Linked DNA regions of Homo sapiens: all the other regions are linked to region 2. Evidence: promoter capture Hi-C in 16 types of primary human blood cells and fetal thymus (Javierre and others, 2016). All regions are on one chromosome and are shown on one strand. Each heading gives the region's core, a stretch centred on a gene start or on the middle of the fragment in contact. The rest is flanking DNA. Distances are from core to core; before and after follow the strand shown.

What was found. Contacts are between HindIII fragments. The CHiCAGO score rates a contact against its expected background, and 5 or more counts as called.
Region 1: a fragment that was not itself captured here is called in contact with the fragment with the promoter of KLHL20 in region 2 in 2 of 17 cell types (naive CD4 T cells and naive B cells); the score reaches 5.9 in naive CD4 T cells.
Region 3: a fragment that was not itself captured here is called in contact with the fragment with the promoter of KLHL20 in region 2 in 1 of 17 cell types (naive CD8 T cells); the score reaches 5.3 in naive CD8 T cells.

What each region holds. Positions count from the first base shown.
Region 1 is chr1:172,738,022-172,741,782 of GRCh38, reverse strand. No RefSeq gene overlaps it. Among named protein-coding and RNA genes, the nearest start is that of FASLG, 81 kb to the right of the region's middle. The HindIII fragment of the contact is 5,998 bases long and covers 1-3,761 here.
Region 2 is chr1:173,713,124-173,717,181 of GRCh38, reverse strand. KLHL20 (kelch like family member 20) reads right to left here and starts at 2,201. Exons shown (of 12, transcript NM_014458.4): 1 at 2,104-2,201; 2 at 1,116-1,179. The coding sequence starts at 1,138. It also overlaps a transcript of ANKRD45 not described here. RefSeq lists enhancers at 1,658-2,027, 2,108-2,297. The HindIII fragment of the contact is 9,904 bases long and covers 1-4,058 here.
Region 3 is chr1:172,721,339-172,725,241 of GRCh38, reverse strand. No RefSeq gene overlaps it. Among named protein-coding and RNA genes, the nearest start is that of FASLG, 64 kb to the right of the region's middle. The HindIII fragment of the contact is 6,552 bases long and covers 1-3,903 here.

The DNA.
Region 1 (3,761 bases), core at 1,131-3,630, 980 kb after region 2:
GTAGCACATGCACAGACAGACCCAGAGCAGCACAGCAAAGGCCTTGAAAATGTAACTAACATTGGAATCACCATCCAGAAAGGTGAGCTAAAACTTGCAGTCTGAACCTAACAAAATTGAGTATCTACAAAAGCAAAATAACAACAACCAAAAAATAACCTTCCCCAAAGGACTTTATTAGGACATAGAGTCTCCCCATATAGTACTCAAATTGTCAATAAAATCCAAAATAACTTGACATATAGCACCAAAAACATCTAACCACTCGTAAGGGAAAACAAAATCAACAGATGTCAATCCTGCGATGACCCAGATATGGGAATCAGACAGAATTTAGAGCAGTTACTATAATTGTGCTTCTAGAAGGAACCACTTTTGAAATGGATAAAAAAATAGAAGTGCTCAGCAGAGAAGCAGGAGCTACAAATACAGAATCAAATGGTGATTTTAGAACTAAAAAATATAATATCTGAAATATAAAATTTACTGGATGGACTCAAGGGAGATAATAGAGGAGTCAGCAAGCAAGTATAGATCAATAAAAATTATTCAATCTGAAGAATTCAGAGGGAAATTATTTTAAAAAACAGAGCTCCAGAGACCTAGAGGAAAATATTCAAAAGTCTAATATTCATATCATTGAAATCCCAGAAAAAGATGAGAGAGAGATTGGCACAGAAAAAAAATTTGAAGAAATAATGGCTTAAAATATGTAAATTATGAAATGAAAAACATAATGTGTAGGGAGCAGGAAATATGTAGTTTTTCTATGTAATGGAATTTAAGGGGTTATCAGCTTAAAACGTACTGTTATACCTATAAGACGTTATATATACACATCTTGGTGACCACAAAACAAAAACCTATAGTAGATATATAACAGACAAAGAAAAAAATCAAAGCATACCACTACAACAAATCATCAAATCACAAAAGAAGACTCAAAATAAGCAAAAAAAAAAAGAAAGAAAGAAAGAAAGAGAAATCTAACAAAATGGCAATAGGAAGTTCTTACCTACTGATAATTACCTTGAAAGTAAATAGATTAAATTCTCTAAGCAAAATAAATAGAGTGGTTGAATGGGGTGGTTTTGTTTGTCTGTTTGTTTGTTTTTGAAATGGAGTCTCGCTCTGTCACCCAGGCAGGAGGGCAGTGGCACAGTCTCAGCTCACTGCAACCTCTCCCTCCCAGGTTCAAGTGATTCTCCTGCCTCAGCCTCCCAAGTAGCTGGGACTACAGGTGCACACTACCACACCTGGCTAATATTTTGTATTTTTAGTAGAGACACATTTCCCCATGTTGGCCAGGCTGGTCTCAAACTCCTGACCTCAAGTGATCTGCCTGTCTCAGCTTCTCAAAGTGCTGAGATTACAGGGATGAGCCACCACACCTAGCCCTGAATGGATTTTTTTAAACCCTAACTATATGCTCTTTATAAGATACTTACTTCAGCTTCTAGGACATGTATAGACTGAAAGTGAAGGGATAGAAAAAGACATTCCATGAAAATGGAAAGGAAAAGATAGCAAATGTAGCTATACTTACGTCAAAATAGACTTTAAGTCAAAACTGTAAAAAGAAACAAAGAAGGCAATTTTTAATGACAAAGGAATCAATATATTAAGAAGATATAACAATTATAAATATATATGCAGGCGACATCAGAGTGCCTAAATACATAAAACACATACTAATAGATCTGAAGGGAGGAATAGACAGTAAAACAATAATAGTGGAGGACTTCAATACCTCACTTTCAACAATTAATAGATCATTCATACAATCAATGAGGAAATATTGGACTTAAACTACACTTTAGACCAAATGGACCTAACAGATGTATACAAAACACTCTCTCCAACAGAAGCATGTACACATTTGTCTTGAGTGCACATGAAACATTCTCTGGGATAGATCATATGTTAGGCCACAAAAGAAGTATTTAAATATGTTAGAAAATTGTAATCATACCAAGTATCTTCTCTGATCACAATGGTATGAAAATAGAAATTAATAACAGGAAAATTCAAAAATATGTGGAAGTTAAATAATGTGTTCCTGAACAGTTAATGGGTAAAGAAAAGAAATCAAAGGGGAAATTTTAAAATATCTTGAGACAAACAAAAATGGAAACAAACATACTAAAACTTAAGGGATGTAGCAAAAGCAGTTATAAGAGGGAAGTTCACGGTAGTTAATGCCTACATTAAAAAGAAAGAACTCAAGTAAACAACTTAATGTTACACTTCAAGGAACTAGAAAGAGAAGAACAAACTAAGCCCAAAGTTGATAGAAGAAAGATCCAAGCAGAAATAAGTGAAACAGAGACTAGAAAGCAATATAAAAGATCAATGAAACCAAAAGGTTTTTTTGAGAAGATTTTTAAAATTCAGCTACACTAAGAAAAAAAGAAAGAAAACTCAAATAAAATCAGTAATGAAAGAAGAGACGTTATGACAAATACCACAGAAATACAAAGGATTGTAAGAGACTACAAGAAACAATTATACACCAAAAAACTGAACAGTCTATAAGAAATGGATAAATCCTAAATATGTATGTGTATATATATATATATATATATATATATATATATATATATATATATATACATAAAACTTATCAAGTCTGAAACAAAAAGAAATAGAAAATCTGAACATACCAATAATGAGTAATAAGATTAAATCAGGAATCAAAAATCTCCCATCAAATTAAAGCCCAATAATAGATGGCCTCACTGGTGAATTCTATTAAGCATTGAAAGAGGAATGAATACCAATCATTCTCACTCTCCCAAAAAAATCGAAGAGGAGGGAAAACTTACAAAGGGATTTTTATGAGGCTAGTACTATCCTGATGCTAAAGTCAGACAAAGACACTACAAGAAAAGATTACAGGTCAATATTCCTGATGAACGTAAATGCAAAAATCCTCTGACAAAACAGCTACAAATTGAATTAAACAGCACATTAAAAGAATCCTACACTATAATCAAATGAGATTTATCCCTATGATGCAAGGATGGTTCAACAAATGTAAATCACTAAATGTGATGCACCACATTAACAGAATGAAGGATTACAATTGTATGATCATCTCAATAGATGCAGAAAAAGCATTTGAAAAAAAAATCAGTATGCTTCTATGACAAAAACTCCCAACAAATTGCGTTTAGCAATAATGTACTTCCACACGATAAGGTCATATATCACAAGCCTACAGCTAACATTCTATTCAATAGTGAAAAGTTGGAAGCCTTTCCTCTAGGATCAGGAACAAGATAAGGATACCAACTCCCACCACTTATATTCAACATTGTACTGGAAGTCCTAGGCAGAGAAATTATGAAAGAAAAAGAAATAAAAGCCATCTAAATCAGAAAAGAAGAAGTAAAATTGTCTCTCTTTGCAGATGACGTGGCCATATATAGAAAACTTTAAAGACTCCAAACACAAAAAAACTGTTAGAACTAACAAGTGAATTCACTAAAGTTACAAAACAGAAAATCGACATACAAAAATAAGTTGCATTTTTATACATTAACAATTAACTATTCAAAAAAGAAATTAAGAAAACAATTCAATTTACTATAGCATCAAAAAGAAGAAAATACTTAGGAATAAATTTAACCAGGGAGATGAAAGATCTGTATACTGAAAACTTTAAAACATTAATGAAAGGAGTGGAAGAAAAAGAAACCACAAATAAATGGAAAGATATCTTGTGTTTATGTATTATAGAATCAATATCAAAATGTTCA
Region 2 (4,058 bases), core at 952-3,451:
GAGACACAATCAGTGGGTTTTGCAATAATGTTAGAAGTAAAGGGATGAAGTATTTAATATTATGTTGTTAATTTTTTCATGTACATTGTGGTAAAATATTATTCCTACTACAGAGTAAAATATAAATAAGATAATGGTATTTTTCATCTTGATAACATCTTTTCATCTGGAGATCTTAAAGCATTTGCAAATGTTCATTAATCCCCAATATCCTGATCAGATACACTAAAGAAGTAAACTGGGGTACAGAGAAGGTGAACAGCTCAAGGTCAATTGATAAACCAATAACAGATTTGGATAAAGATATACATTCTGGTTCTTGCTCCAAGTTCTGAGTTATAAGTCATATTCCCATTATAAAATGTTTCTTCTCTTAAAAGAACTGCAGAAGTTGTTTATCTTTGATGTTAAATAACAAATGATTAAATAGAGTTCAATAAATAGAAAACAAATGTAAAAACCAAAGAAATAGAACTGGGATGATTTTGTATCATAAAGATTCTAGTCTCATTTGTTAGAACAAAATGAGAAAAAACATTATTAAATTCTAGGGTTGGGAGGGCCTATTTATTGTCTATATTTTCCCAGACATTGTTCTATTTTTCTATGGACTAAGTTATTATGTCTAATACCTATTTTAGTCCTTATACAATCTTCCCTACAATGCAGCTATTTTAATTAACAGAACAAATGTATGATTGAACATCAAGGAAATAACCAAAACCATAATTAGGCATGCAGTACAGTATATTATAAATAATTATGATTCTTACATGGGAACAGAATCCTCTACATTTTATAGGGAACTGAAGATTATAATAAATCCATATAGTATCATAATGAACTTAATGATTATTTACTGTAAAAAACATGAAAAAAGGAAAATTTAAGTGTTTAGCACTACATACAATCCACAGCACTTTTCAGAAACAACTTCTGTATTTTATTCTATTAAAAAGCTATTAATTCTTAATATTACTTTTGATTTATTGTAGAACAAGACTCATTAGTTCCAAGCAGAATTTAGTAAGATTGAAACTCTTTTTTAAAAATTTAAATTATTACATGCTGAATTTTAATCAGTGAAACCAAAGGTTTTCTTCCTAAATGCCTACCTGCGCATTGGCTTTCCTTCCATGCACCATGAAAAGTACCCTTCACCACACTCTAAAGCCGAACCTAAGACAACAGAAAAGCAGGAACTTAATAAAAGCTATTTCTGATCTTTACAGTAACAATCTTTATATAATCATTTCACTCATTTCGTCAGTTATCAAGAGTTTCATATCCTATTATACCACAGGCCTTCTGCAGATGCACAATAACTTAATCTAGTACATTTAAGATTACCATCCTTACTCTGCATGCTAAAACGATTAAAGTAAAGGTGAGGGAAAGTATGCTAAATAGTCCCGACTGTTAGGTCAGTCTTGTTTCTCTTCAAAAAGTGCTTGGAGATATTTAACTGTGATCTCGACATCAAGTATATTTACAGAACAAGCACCAGATACCCACAGCAGTACTAACCTGATAGATCACATAGGGTACACGAGGCTTTAATAACGAATCTGAAGATTGTTAACTTGTCCCGAAGTGACAGGAGGAGGAGGCGTCTGCATTTGCCTTTACAAACAACTCCGCTTCCGACAGTCCAGGGAGCTTGAACAGGGCAGGGAAAGTATGGCTCCAGACTAACACTCTTTACAAGCATTTCCTTCAGTCCCCGATACAATGTTCACTACCCACGTAGCAGGATTTCGCCAGGTCCCGAGGGTTAAATGGGGGCGCACGTACTTTCTTCCTTCCCTGAATTCCAAACACTGTCTGGGGAAGCTGTCCAGGATGCGAAACCCCAGCACCACCAGGCAGGACAAAGCCCGGGGCCTCCTCTGGCTCCCGAGATAGGCTGTCAGCCAGCGAGAGCGCACTCTGGCGCTCCGCGAGGCCCGGCCCCAGCGCCCCAACAGTCTCTTCTCGGCGCCGACTGACAGGCGACCGACCTGACCCCATGGGGCAGCTCAGCAACTTGGGACCACATATCTGCGAAGCGAGCCCTGGGGCGCTGTCCGCTGTCCCCTGCTCTAAGGTGACTGGCTCACTTACCGGCTCTGACACTTTCTTCTCTGCAGCAGCCTCCTCCGTCTACTCCGCCCTCCACTCCTCTCTGCCTCCTCCTCCACCGCCGCTAACGCAGGCAGGATGCCGCTCGTAGAGCTATTTCCTTTCCCTTCACCGGCCCATATCCAGAAGCAGGAAGTAGTCCTATTCTTAAATCGTTCCCGCAGGAACCCACATAATCCGCCAAGGGGTTCCGGTGCGGCTCCGGAAGTAGTCGTGCCCTTTGCTGGGGCATTCAGGTAACCTCAGAGGTTGTTTATCCTCGTGGGGGTTCCTTGTATCCCAAGAGTAACCATTTTTAGAATTCACTGCGGAACTGGCAGTATTTGAATACTGAAGCCTCCTCTTTTCTTCTTTGTTTTCGCCAGCAAAGGCAGTAAAGGGTAGTCACAGAAAGCTAAGAATTTGTATTTCTTTTTAGTTGGTGGGTCTCCTTTTGGCACAATGTTCCTAATTGTGGATTGAATTATTGCATGCACACATGGGTTGGCATGTATCTGTCAGGCCTCTACTATGTGCAAGGTGCAGAAGTTAGATAGACAGACCAGAGATAGACCTTATCCTCCAGATTTCCCACGGTCAAACTTTCAGGACACCAGGATTTTATCCAGGCTCTAAGGCTGTGTTAGTCTGCCCTTTCTACTTAGTATTCACCACCAGACACTTCACCAAACACATCTTCTGTGGATTCACTTTAATGTTAAGGAGGGAAGAGTATATTTTCTTAAAAAAATTTTTTTTCAGTAGCAAGCAGAGCCAAAAAAGTATATTTTTAAAATTATCTTTTCCTCCAGATTTTCCCATAGCACACAGCCACCTGATTTTTACCGTATATTAATATTTAGAAAACAAGTGATACAAGTGTAAGGTGGGGATTACAATTTCAGGAATATCAGAGAAAGACTGTTGCTGATTTCCTGGTAAGTATACTAGGCTAAGTATTAACCAGATTTTCTTTAGCTGTTCTTTATGTAGAATCTACACAGGTGTGTCCAGTTGTTTCTGAGGGGAAAGGATACCTCTTGTTAATTAGCTTGTAGTGGAAAATACATGGCCTTTAGATCCAGATATAGTGGCCCAGTGGATTCTTCTTGCCTGCTGCCCAGATACAGATGATTTATCAAGGTATAGGGATTGCAATGGAGAAAGAGTTTTACACAACATCGAGTGGAAAAATGGAAGAAGTTTTATTATTACTCAAATCAGTTATATTATTACTCAAATCGGCCTCCTGGAGCATTTGGGGGCTAGGTTTCTTTTCAAAGGTAGTCTGGGGAAAGGGGTAGGGGTGGCTAGGCAATGGGTGCTTGCTGCTGACTGGTGCAGTCATAGGGGTATGGGAGATGGTCCTCCTGCCTACTGAGTTGTTTCTGGGTGGAGCCACAGGAACAGTTGGTGGGTCCAGGTGGAGCCATCAGTAGTCAAACATGCAAAAAACTTAAAAATATACCCAAAAAGGCCAATCCTAGATTCTACAATAGTGATGTTATCTGTAGGAGTAATTGGGGAAGTTGCATATCTTGTGACCTCTGGAATAATGGCTGGCAATCACTTATGTCTACACTTAACAGAATTCAGGCTCATCTATCCCCGTTGTCTGGTGGTCTCTCATTAGCTTTACAAAGGCAATTGAGTTTTGGGGAAGGACTGTAATTATTTAAACTATTAAACTAAATGTCTCCCAAAGTTATCTTGGCTTAAGCCCAGGAATAATTAAGGACAGACTGAAAGCTAAAGGCAAGATGGGGTTTGGCTAGATCAGATCTCCTCCACTGCTATAATTTTCTCACTGATAGAATTTTTGCAAAGGGGGTTTCAGTTTGCAAAGGCGATTTCACGGATACACATAGGTACAAATCCTAGACCTGTAACTGACTAGCTTTGTGATCTTATTGAAAATTTTTACTGCATGTGTATATGTGATATATATACATATGCAG
Region 3 (3,903 bases), core at 874-3,373, 990 kb after region 2:
TGGCTTCAAAAAGAGGAAGTTCTCTGCTTATAAGCTGTGCTTGTTTGCCAGCAAGGTTTGCTGCTAGGTGACCACAGCACCCCTACAATCTTAGAGCATGAGACAACTGTACATTAGACATGACACAGATGGTGCTAGGGGAGAGCATGGGCTTAGGGGGTCAGGTAGATCTCGCTTCAGATAGCTTTGCTTTGCCATTTATTTGGCAGGTGACTGCGGTGAGCTTTTCAATTTCTCTGAGCTGCCTCATCCACATGATGGGGATAATAATTTCTGTATTCTGAGGTCACAGATTAATAGCCTGAGTTGTATTCATTCTGAAAGTAAGTCCTATCTGAATTCATCTAGAGAATCTATCAAGTAGCCTCAAATACAAGGGAAAGAAATTATTCAAAGGCAGAAAGTTATTCAAATACAAGGGAAGGAAGTCATTCAAAGGCAGAAAGAGTCCATGTGCCTGATTTTGGTCCAAGGGTAGAATTGGAGAGATAGAATAGTGCGCCTTCTTATCCGGTGACAGGGCTCCACATGTTATGCCAGAATCTTTGAGAGGAGGAGCTCTAATAAAGAGAGAATTAAAAAATAAATTGTTTCCCCAAAATATTTGCCATTACATCAAGAGTACAAAGGATTCTGATTTGAAACCCATGGAAGAAAACAAGGATGAAAGAGACTTGCACATCTTTTTCTTAATTGAAATATGCACAGTAAAGTAAAAACCTCACATAATTTCATCACATAAAAAGGACATAAATACTAAAAGAAGTTTCACTTTCATTCCCAGAATGCTTTGAGCCTACCCCACCCCTATTCATCTTAACCCCACCCCTCCCACTCCCAGAAAACTACAGTCATTTTGTTATATAACTTTAGAGACTTCTTTCTGTGATTATACACACACAAATACACAAATATTCTTTTTATTTTTTAATTTTTAAAATTTTTAGACATTTAGGGGGTACAAGCACAGATTTCTTACATGTATATATTGCTTAGTGGTGATGTCTGTTCTTTTAGTGTACCCATGACCTGAATAGTGAACATTGTACCCAATGGGTAATTTTTCAACTCTTACCATGTCCCTCCCACTCTCCCATTTTGTTATCTCCAATGTCTATTTTTCCATTCTCTATGTCCATGACATACACATATATTGTTCTTAAATGAGACTGTGCTATGCATATTGGACTGAAATTGCTAAAAGCATCTCATACTCATGCTTTCAGGTCACTATTTATGGGTCACCATACCAAAGCTCCTGGGAGATTTCCCTGTTATTTCAGAGTCCTGAAAATGAATACTGCTATATATAAAAAAACACTTTCTATAAGACTTCCTTAATCCTTTTCAGGAAGAGTAAAGTATCTCTTCAACTGTTTTCCTAAAACATGTGTGTTGCTTATATATTCACTGTATCCCTAATTACATTCTTTTAGTATAGGTGCCAGTTACTGGTAACAACAAAAAAATCAACCTCTGCCAGAATATTTAAAGAGGTTTATTCTGAGCCAATATGAGTGACTATGGCCTGGGGAAACTGTCTCAAGAGGTCCCGAGAAAGTGTGCCCAAGGCAGTTGGGTTAACGTTTGGGAGGGAGACAGAAATTGCATGTCAAAACATAAACGAATACATGGGAGTTGTACATTGAGTCTATTCAAAAAGGCAGGACATCTGGCAGTGAGAGCTTACAAGACACAGGTGAGTTTAGGGATTATTTAGTTGGCAATTGGTTGAAAGAGTTGAGCTTTGTCTAAAAACTTGGAGTCAGTAGAAAGGAATGCTTCAGTTAAGACAAGGGGGTCTGTTTTCTGTTACATGATGCCATACCAGAGTCTGGTTGCAAAAGTAAGCCACAATATACTGGGTCAAAAAAACTTGTTTAACATAATTTTATGTCTTGTAGATTTGACTCCCTGTGGGCCCTTAAAAAGAAATCTGAGAAAGTAAAAATGTCAGAGTTCAGTCCTTACCTGTTTTTTTCCACTAGACTGCAAAGTTCTTACTGAAAAAGGCCTTCCCTACTCTTGACACCTGGACTTCCAAGGGTCTGGAATAAGGCCAATCAAGCCACAATATCTGAAAGAACATGCGATGGGAAGTCAGATCTGAGATTTACGCTCTACCCTGCTAATAATTTGCACCTCATGTGGAGAAGTTCCAGCCCACCTGGATTGTCGCTTCTTCGTTTTTAAAATCTGTTTACATTCAAGGACTGGGATAAACTAGATGTCCTTTAAGGCCACTTCAAACTTTAACATGCGAAACACAAAACTGATGTCTGCAACATGGAATAGTAATAGCTAAAGAGAAAAATGCTTACTATCAAAATATTATTGTTGTCTGACACTAAAATACATATTTTGTGTATGAGACAGGGTCTTGCTGTGTTGCCCAGGCTAGAGTGCAGTGGCACGATCTCTGCTCGCTGCAGCCTCAACCTTCCAGGCTCAAGTGATCCTCCTGCCTCAGCCTCCTGAAGAGCTGGGACTACAGGAATGCACCACCATGCCTGGATAATTTTTGTATTTTTTATAGAGACAGTGCTTTGCCATATTGCCTAGACTGATCTCAAACTCCTGGGCTCAAGCAATCTGCCTGCCTTGGCCTTCCAAAGTGCTAGGATTACAGGTGTGTGCCACTGTGCCCTGCCTGTAAAATACACATTTTAGTCAGTAAAAGTTAGTTACATGTAACTATTCTTATTTGTATGTGAATAACTCTTAAATTCCCATCAGCAACATAGTTAGAAATTATTCCTTAGAGTAGGATATTTTACAGATGGCTTTGTGGCAGGCCAATTCTCCCTGACAATCACACAGACAGGCCTGCATGACAGTCACACAGACAGGCCTACATAGCACTCCAGTTACACAGACAAATTTCCATAGCACTGTCTTACCATTGAGCAAATAGTCAAACCTAGGGAAATCAATGCCCAGACATCAAAACTAGAAATGAAACATATGGTCAGTAGGAACCTTGCATGGGCTTCTCCCTAACCTGGAGCAAACCAAAATAATAGAGACAGTCTTACATTCCTACTGCCAGGACCCATCTTGCATTGACAAAATCTGAGACAAGTCAAGGTAACAGAGGCAGCTGTTTGAATAGATTCATCGGAGAGTCTAAGGCAGCTCTCCGGACCAAGCTGTAAAGGAGATGAGATAGAAATAATCACTCTGGTACCGCAGTAGACAGGCCTTGAAGGTACTGGGGCCCTTTTAATTGGACTTAGCAAGCAATTTTTGCCTCTGACCTTCTAGTTGAAACAGAATCAGTTACCAATAGACTTAGGCGAATGCTATACTGCACATAGGCACATAGCCCCAACCTATATAAGCGCTAAGAAAATTGTAACACTTTGAGTTGGTGGAATTACCTCCGGCCTTCTCTGTGTATCTGGTTACAGTGATAAATTCCCTTCTTTCCTAGTTTGTCTGCTTCTCATTATTGGGACTGGAGAAAACGCAGTCGGACCTGGCTTGGTTCCGGGAATAGCTTGGCAAACAAAATGTACTAATAATTGATTGATTTTCATTATTTTGTTTTTTAAAAGGCAACTTTTCGTGACCCCACATTCCAATTCCAGGGGTTTCTCTATACTGCCTAATTATTCTACAATCACCTAAAAGTATTACTACTATTACTAAAACTATTACTAGTATTAATTTTTATAATAATAAAGATAATAAATTATTACATGGTGCTTCAAAGTTAATCTCTTTCACACCGAAGTTAAATAGATAAAGTAGATAATATTGCTTTCTTGATTGCATGGCCTAAAAACCCTAAGCTAGAGAAATTAGATCACTTACCCAAGGTTGCAAAGCTAATTACTATTGGCTCCTTGGTCAAAATCCAGGGTTTTTGTGCAAGAACAGAAAAATATGTTACTCCATCAC